Regions from separate parts of the Homo sapiens genome. Here region 1 is linked to region 2. The links are contacts of gene promoters, found by promoter capture Hi-C in blood cells and fetal thymus (Javierre and others, 2016). All regions are on one chromosome and are shown on one strand. Each heading gives the region's core, a stretch centred on a gene start or on the middle of the fragment in contact. The rest is flanking DNA. Distances are from core to core; before and after follow the strand shown. Region 1 has its middle 43 kb from the start of THORLNC. Region 2 holds the start of C1QL2 (complement C1q like 2).

Region 1 (3,938 bases), core at 1,342-3,841, 930 kb after region 2:
TGCCACAATGCCTAGCTAATTTTTGTAATCTTTGTAGAGACGGGGCTTCGTCATGTTGCCCAGGCTGGTCTTGAACTCCTGGGCTCAAGTGATTTGCCAGCCTTGACCCCCCAAAGTGCTGGGATTACAGGCGTGAGCCACCACGCCTGGCCATATGTCTATTTGTATTTATTTATTTATCATTAATTTTTTTGAAACAGGGTCTCACTCTGTCTCCCAGGCTGGAGTACAGTGGCACAATCATGGCTCACTGCAGCCTCAACCTCCCAGCTCAAGCAATTCTCCCACCTCAGCCTCCCAAGTAGCTGGCACTACAGGTATACACTCCCATGTCCGGCTAATTTTTGAATTTTTTTGTAGAGATAGAGTTTCACCATTTTGCACAGGCTGGTTTTGAACTTCTAAATTCCAGTGATCCACTTGTTCGGCCTCCCAAAGTACTGGGCTTACAGGTGTGAATAACTGCACCCGGCTATATTTATCACAGCAGAAATTAGTATGTTAGTATGGAAATTGTTTGACCTTTCCAACCCCCTGAAGGGGTCTCAGAGACCTTCAGCTTTTCCCGGACCACACTCTGAGAACTGCTGCTCTGGCATTGCGCTGCCCAGACTTTGCTGTGCCCACATGACACCTGGAATCATGCTAAAATGCAGGTTCTAATTCAGTAGCTCTGAGGTACATAGTAAGACCACACTGCTGACAAGTTTCCAAGGGATGCTGATGCTGCTGGCGCTTGGGCTCCACTTCGAACAGCAAGGCCACAGAGATCGGAGGACAAAAAGTTCATCTTTGGCTAGTGTGCTCTTACATCCGGCCTTACAAATTGGACAATTTAATTTAAAATGGTGGACATGGGTAGAAAGGCCATGCTGAGTGGCGAAGATGGCATAAGCAAAGGTACATATGTAGGAAAATGCAACTTCAGCCGAAGTGTAGGTTCATAAAAACCCCAAGCTGCCCACTGCTCCAACCCCTAGGCTATGTGTAGCTATGTGTAGCTTCCAGTCCAGGCAGAGAAGCCACTGGTCTCAGCATCTCAGGGAAAGGGGTATGAGACCTATCCCCATCCAATACCATGATCAACAAACATCTATGAGTACCAGCAAGAAACAAGTAACTCCAGTGGACCTCAGCTAGCCTTAATTTTCCATCATCCATCCTCACTTCAATTTTCCCTTGGGAGTCATCATTTTTCCACATTCAGTCTAAGTAGTTTGGGTGGAGTTGACCCAAGGTAAGAACAAGATAAGAATCAAAGCACAACTCCCTCTGGCCACAGTGATGAGTTCAAGAATGGGCACAGGACCCAAAGGAGGCCACTGAGAGCCTTCCTGGGCCTTCTCATGGTTTTACAGAGAGACCACATGAGGAGGCCACCTAGAGAGACATGCCCAAGGGGTCCCAGCTGTCTGAGTCTTCCCAGCCCAGGCTCCAGACACATGAGTGAAGAAGCTTCCCAGATGACCTCAGCCCCAGAACCACCTGACTACAAGTGTCTGAGGAACCCTAAGCAAGAACTGCCTCACGGAGCCCAGTTGACCCTCGGATTCAAAAGCAGAATAAATGTGTGTTGCTTCAAGCCACTGTTTTGAGCCATTATTAGTATGCAATAATGGCCAGAACTGGGTCTGTTTGGCTTACCTATTAATTCCAGGGCTAAAATACCAGGAAACAAATCAAAGGCCAGGACAAAGACGCCACTGCACAAAGAACAAGTTCCCCAACTGTCTTTGCTTTGGACCAGCATGTTGGTTGTAGATTTTGTCAACAAGCTCTCACTGTGTAGCAGCCATCAAATAAGCTTTTCATGAGAATTAAGCCAAACAGTCCAGGCTGCAGTGGGAGCAGAATGAGCTTTCCATAAAGTTTGGTGGTCTCCATGATAACACAGGACACTGCTCGTTCACTGATGTTGTACTCGCTCAATTAGTTTCTTCATCTCAGATTGTAAAATCTGGATGGAAGGAGACATTTCTAATACTTCTTCAGGGTTCCAAAGCCTGTGGTAGACTGTAAGACACATACTGGGTGCTTGATAGACATTTGTCAACAGCTTGCCTGATTTAAATCTGGGCCTTATATTTCACATGGGGAGGCCATGGAAGCCCACAAAGCAAATGGAGGGTCACATTGGCCAACGGTTTTCTCTGATGGTACAGAGGTAAATGTCCACAAAAAATATTGGGTAGTAGAGGAAGACAGTTGACAACCCTTACATAACCTCCAAAGGTCTTAGAGAGCACAGAGTTGGAGTTGATAGACCAGGATTGAAATCCTGACTCAGCCATCAGGAAGCTGGAGGCATTCGGTGAGGCCCAGCCCCTACAAGTCTCAGCTTCCTTATCTGTAAAGTGGGAGTAACAGTACCTAGAAGATTGTGGTGATTAAGTGAGACATTCAATATAAGGCATATGTTGACATGTGGCAGGCACTCTGTAAATAGAAATCATCATTGTTATCATTAGCTGCACATTTGGGAATAAAACTCCTGGCTTACTTACTTTACATGGCAGTTTTGTGGATCAAGGGAGAATAGACAGAATGATGCTTTAAAAATATTAATAAAGTTCAATGTCAATAAAGTTATTAAAAACCAGAGTAAGGTCTAAATCATCTGACATAAATATCCCTTCTGTTTGCACATGCAAAGCAGAATGCAGAATGTGAGAAAAAAGAGTTGGGGAAAACCCAAAGCAAGAGGCACATCACTGATCCACTCACACAGAGCTGGAAAGAACCTTTAAAATCACCCAATTCACCTCGTTTTTCAGGAAGGGAACTAGGGCAGAGAGTGCCGCTGCATGGATGAGGCCACACAAGCTAGCAGGCAGGACCAGGAAGGGAACTCCCAACCCACATGCCCAGTCTGGTGCCCTTTTCACTATTTATCACCTTTCTGGCTTGCATTTGCTGTGTGATAATCTAGGTATCTGCCCATCAGAACATTCTTAAGCAGACACTGGATGCAACTGAAAAGTAAACAAATGCCAGATCAGTTTCATCGTTGGAACATTTCCTCACTTCCTGGCAGTTGCGGAGAAAATGCCTCTGGGGTATCTTTCTCTAATTTTCTTTCTCAATAATGGTATAAAAATGGTAACGAATGCTAAGGAGGAGTAATGTGTCTTGGGGAAAATTTAGCTTCTACAAGCTGGTTTTCCGTCCACCCTACAAAGTCACTGAGCTCTGGGATGCTGGCTTTCTAAGTCTGGCTGAAGCTCAACCATGAGGCCAAGTGCCCAGCTTTGACAAAGAAAGCTCTTCAACACTGGAAGAAAGATCGTCAATGTTGGTGTCTGAGTTTCTCTGTTATAATGAAGTGTTCAATGTTTTAAACACTGCTGCAATGAATGTAATGGTAGATTTAAAAGCTTTTTTTTTTTTTAAATTGAGATGGAGTCTTGCTCTGTTGCCCAGGCTGGTGTGCAGTGGTGCAATCTTGGCTCACTGTAACCTCCGTCTCCTGGGTTCAAGTGATTCTTCTGCCTCAGCCTCCCGAGTAGCTGGGACTGCAGGAACGTGCCACCACACCCGGCTAATTTTTTGTATTTTTTTTTTGGTAAAGATGAGGTTTCGCTGTGTTAGCCAGGATGATCTCAATCTCCTGACCTCGTGATCCACCTGCCTTGGCCTTCCAAAGTGCTAGGATTACAGGCATGAGCCACCGCGCCCAGCCTTAAATGCTATTTTAATTTCTTGCATATAACGAGGCTGTCTTTTATTCTCTGGTTACCCAGGTTTGAAAGCCCAGTCACCTCTGACCTGCCTCTCTGCTTTGAGCTCCATGTGCTTTGGCCATCAAATCTTACCAAATCATTCTTTCTCTCCATCCCCATAACACTGGCCTGTAGCAGCCCTCATTCCTTATGACCACCATAGCCTCCCACTGGGATCTCAGAATCCAGGCCTTCTGCCCAACCCCAAATCCTTCCTGG
Region 2 (3,803 bases), core at 85-2,584:
CCGCTGGAAGTCTCTCCCACACCGGCGGGCCTCTCATCCTTCCTTAGCCTCACATGCTACATTGGAGATAGACTATTCTGCTCTCATCTGAGGCCATGGTTTATTCAAGACTGGCTCAGAATGGCTTTGGACTATTTGGACTATTTTCTAAAATAACTAAACCCATCTCAGGAGGAGGAAGCTGGGGATGTCCAAGGGAATGTGCCCATGCATCTGCCTGGCAGTGGCCGGGCTTGGAGTAGAAGCTGAGTGCACCATGATCACTGCCAAGTGCCGGCATCAAGCATTTGGTTTCTACACCAGCTTCACGCAGAGGACAAGGGCCAGCCATTTTCTGGTGGAAGAAAAGGTCTGAGGCGAATATTCCTTTTTTTTTTTTTTTTTTTTGAGATGGACTTTTGCTTTTGTTGCCCAGGCTGGAGTGCAATGGCACGATCCCGCCTCACCGCAACCTCTGCCTCTCTGGTTCAAGCGACTCTCCTGCCTCAGCCTTCCGCGTAGCTGGGATTACGGGCATGCACCACCATGCCCAGTTAATTTTGTGTTTTTAGTACAGACGGGGTTTCATCATGTTGGTCAGGCTGGTCTCAAACTCCCAACCTCAGGTGATCTGCCCGCTTCGGCCTCCCAAAGTGTTGGGATCACAGGCGTGAGCCACTGCGCCCGGCCGCAAATATTCTTGTATTGGGAGCCTTGGGCTTTTTAGAGTCACCTCAGAGGTTAGTGGGGTGCTCTACGGGAGCCTGTTTAAGAGTCTGGAGTCCTTAGTCTAGGTTTGCGAAAGATCTTCCAGAAGCGAGATCTATTCAATTCTGAAGAAATAACTCAGGAGGTCTTTCAGAAACTCCTTCCCGCTGGACCTCACGGGACTCTCCTGGACTCGGTGGGTTGAGGTTTGATCCTCTTTGCAGGCCAGGGGATGGATTAGGTGACCCCAGAGGAGCCCTGCTGACACCTGGATTCCAGCTGCTTTCGTGGCCATGTGGGGGTGGCTGTGCGTGCCCCGCCACTGCGTGCGTGGGTGTCTGTGTGTGTTATCGGTGGGGGGCGCGTGAGTGTGGCCGCGGGTGGGTGTGTCCGATGTGCCCCGGCTTGGGACCGCGCCCGCTGCGCCCACTTGTGGCTCCTGGGAGCCGCCAGGGGGAACCGCGCCTTCACCGCCTCTGCCGAGGACGCCGCCAGATAGGAGGCTGATGACATGAGGGCTCCGTCTCCCGAGTGATGGCAGCGCGCGCTGCTTCGCCGCCTCCGCCGCTCAGCCCCGGACTCCTTACGTCAGGGTAGCGGGGTCCCCCCTCCGCGCGGGAGCCAGCGAACAGCGAGAGAGCACAGCAGAGCGCGCCGCGGAGCCGGGGCGCCCTCACTGCGCTAGGAGCCCCACTAAACCCAGCGGAGCGGAGCCTGGCGGGAGGCAGCGCCGCGGAGCCAGCGCCGGACGCCGCAAGCAGACTCCCCGGCCAGCGCAAGCACTCCCTGGCCGGCGCCGGACCCTCGGGGCGCCGGATTCGTCTTGTGTGCCCCACGTCATGCGCGCGGGCGTCCGCGGCTCTCCCGACCAGCCCCAGCGCGGTGGGCCCAGGCTCAGAGGTCCCGGCGCCTCTCGCTGAAGTAGTTGGGTAGCCGGGGCTGGGGGTCGCCACGTCGGGGGCGCGGCCAGGACCCGCGGAGCCGGTCCCCGAGCGCGGGGAGCGGGGCCGCCCGCGCCGCCCCACCATTACCTCCCCGGGCGGCAAGGAGGAGCTGGTGGCGGTCGCCTCCCGGCTGTGGCAGCGGCGGCGGCGTGCCTGCCTGGCGGCCGTCGGCGTACTCTTGGCCATGGCGCTCGGGCTGCTCATCGCCGTGCCGCTGCTGCTGCAGGCGGCGCCCCGAGGCGCCGCGCACTATGAGATGATGGGCACCTGCCGCATGATCTGCGACCCTTACACTGCCGCGCCCGGCGGGGAGCCCCCGGGTGCAAAGGCGCAGCCACCCGGACCCAGCACCGCCGCCCTGGAAGTCATGCAGGACCTCAGCGCCAACCCTCCTCCTCCTTTCATCCAGGGACCCAAGGGCGACCCGGGGCGACCGGGCAAGCCAGGGCCGCGGGGGCCCCCTGGAGAGCCGGGCCCGCCTGGACCCAGGGGCCCTCCGGGAGAGAAGGGCGACTCGGGGCGGCCCGGGCTGCCAGGGCTGCAACTGACGGCGGGCACGGCCAGCGGCGTCGGGGTGGTGGGCGGCGGGGCCGGGGTAGGTGGCGATTCCGAGGGTGAAGTGACCAGTGCGCTGAGCGCCACCTTCAGCGGCCCCAAGATCGCCTTCTATGTGGGTCTCAAGAGCCCCCACGAAGGCTATGAGGTGCTGAAGTTCGATGACGTGGTCACCAACCTCGGCAATCACTATGACCCCACCACGGGCAAGTTCAGCTGCCAGGTACGCGGCATCTACTTCTTCACCTACCACATCCTCATGCGCGGCGGCGACGGCACCAGCATGTGGGCGGACCTCTGCAAGAACGGGCAGGTCAGTGACCCCTACACTCACCGGCCCCCGTAAACCCTCGCCCGCGCCCTGAACCTCCCAGGGAACCAGCCTCCTTTCTCTCCACCCGCGGGCTACCCTGCGAGCCCCGGGAATGAACGCGCCTCGGTGCCACAGTATCTCCGCTTCCCGATGCGCCGAGGCCGCGCTCACCGGGACGTAGAGCCAAATGTTGGGCCTTGAGAGCCCAGAGACCCCCATACCTAAACTACACTCCTTGGCCACTTGCGTCCCTGCCTGCCTCTCCGTGGGCTTCTCGGAAACCTCAGTTCTTTAGTTCTCTCCAGGTCGCCCCCTTGCCCTGCAGCCTCCTTTCCTCTTGGCCCTGGCCCCTGGCTCCCACCCTTCCACTCTGGGTCAGTGTTCATGAAGCTTCCCCTCTCCCTATTTCCCAGACTCGTCGGCGCGAGGAGGAGGGGGGACCTGGAAGGAGTTGACTAAGTTGGAGAGAGAACATGGAGCTGGGGTGGGAGTGTGGACCCTGAAGCAGCAGGCGGGAGGCCCGTGAGTGGCGCGCCTGGTGTGGGCTGAGCAAAGGCGCGGGAAGAGGTGCCCCGGCTCACCTGCTCCCACCGCTTGTCCCCAGGTCCGGGCCAGCGCCATTGCACAGGACGCCGACCAGAACTACGACTACGCCAGTAACAGCGTGGTGCTGCACTTGGATTCAGGGGACGAAGTGTATGTGAAGCTGGATGGCGGGAAGGCTCACGGAGGCAATAATAACAAGTACAGCACGTTCTCGGGCTTTCTTCTGTACCCGGATTAGGGGCGCGGGGGGTGCGAGGCGGGGTGGCTGCAGGCCGCCCGGTCTCCGCCCGGGCGCGGCTCCTTGGCAAAGGCCACTCTCGATTCATAACACTTCCTGACATCTCCTTTGGAAAAGACAAATCCCTGCGTCCTCCCTGCCCCGCTCCTGGCCTCAGTGCGTCTGCGACCCACCACGCTCAGGGCTGTGCTCCTGGTCTCCATCCCCATCCCGGCAAGGGAGGAAGGGACGCCCGAGCCCTTGAGGCGGCGGCACAGACTTTGCAAACCTGATTAGACTGGACAGGCAGGGCCGGGAGCCTGCCCTCCTCAGACAGCCTCCTCCCAGTGCCTAGAAGCGGAGGGCTCCGGGCCCTGGCCAGGGAGGTAGGCCAGAGGGAGCGCGGGCTTCCTGGGGCGTCCTTCTTTGTGACCCGAAATACTTGTGCAGATTTCCCTGTCCATCAGCCAAAACCCCACCCACAGCAGAATTCCAGCAAACAGAAAATTCACCTCTCCACACCGCATTCCCTCCTGACTCA

The links. The method cuts DNA at HindIII sites, captures the fragments that hold promoters and counts their contacts. A CHiCAGO score of 5 or more calls a contact.
Region 1: a fragment that was not itself captured here is called in contact with the fragment with the promoter of C1QL2 in region 2 in 1 of 17 cell types (total CD4 T cells); the score reaches 5.9 in total CD4 T cells.

What each region holds. Positions count from the first base shown.
Region 1 is chr2:118,226,931-118,230,868 of GRCh38, reverse strand. No RefSeq gene overlaps it. Among named protein-coding and RNA genes, the nearest start is that of THORLNC, 43 kb to the right of the region's middle. The HindIII fragment of the contact is 1,570 bases long and covers 1,807-3,376 here.
Region 2 is chr2:119,156,282-119,160,084 of GRCh38, reverse strand. It overlaps C1QL2 (complement C1q like 2), which reads left to right and starts at 1,334. Exons shown (of 2, transcript NM_182528.4): 1 at 1,334-2,499; 2 at 3,104-3,803. The coding sequence starts at 1,816. The coding sequence ends at 3,283. RefSeq lists an enhancer at 2,156-2,966. The HindIII fragment of the contact is 3,837 bases long and covers 1-2,891 here.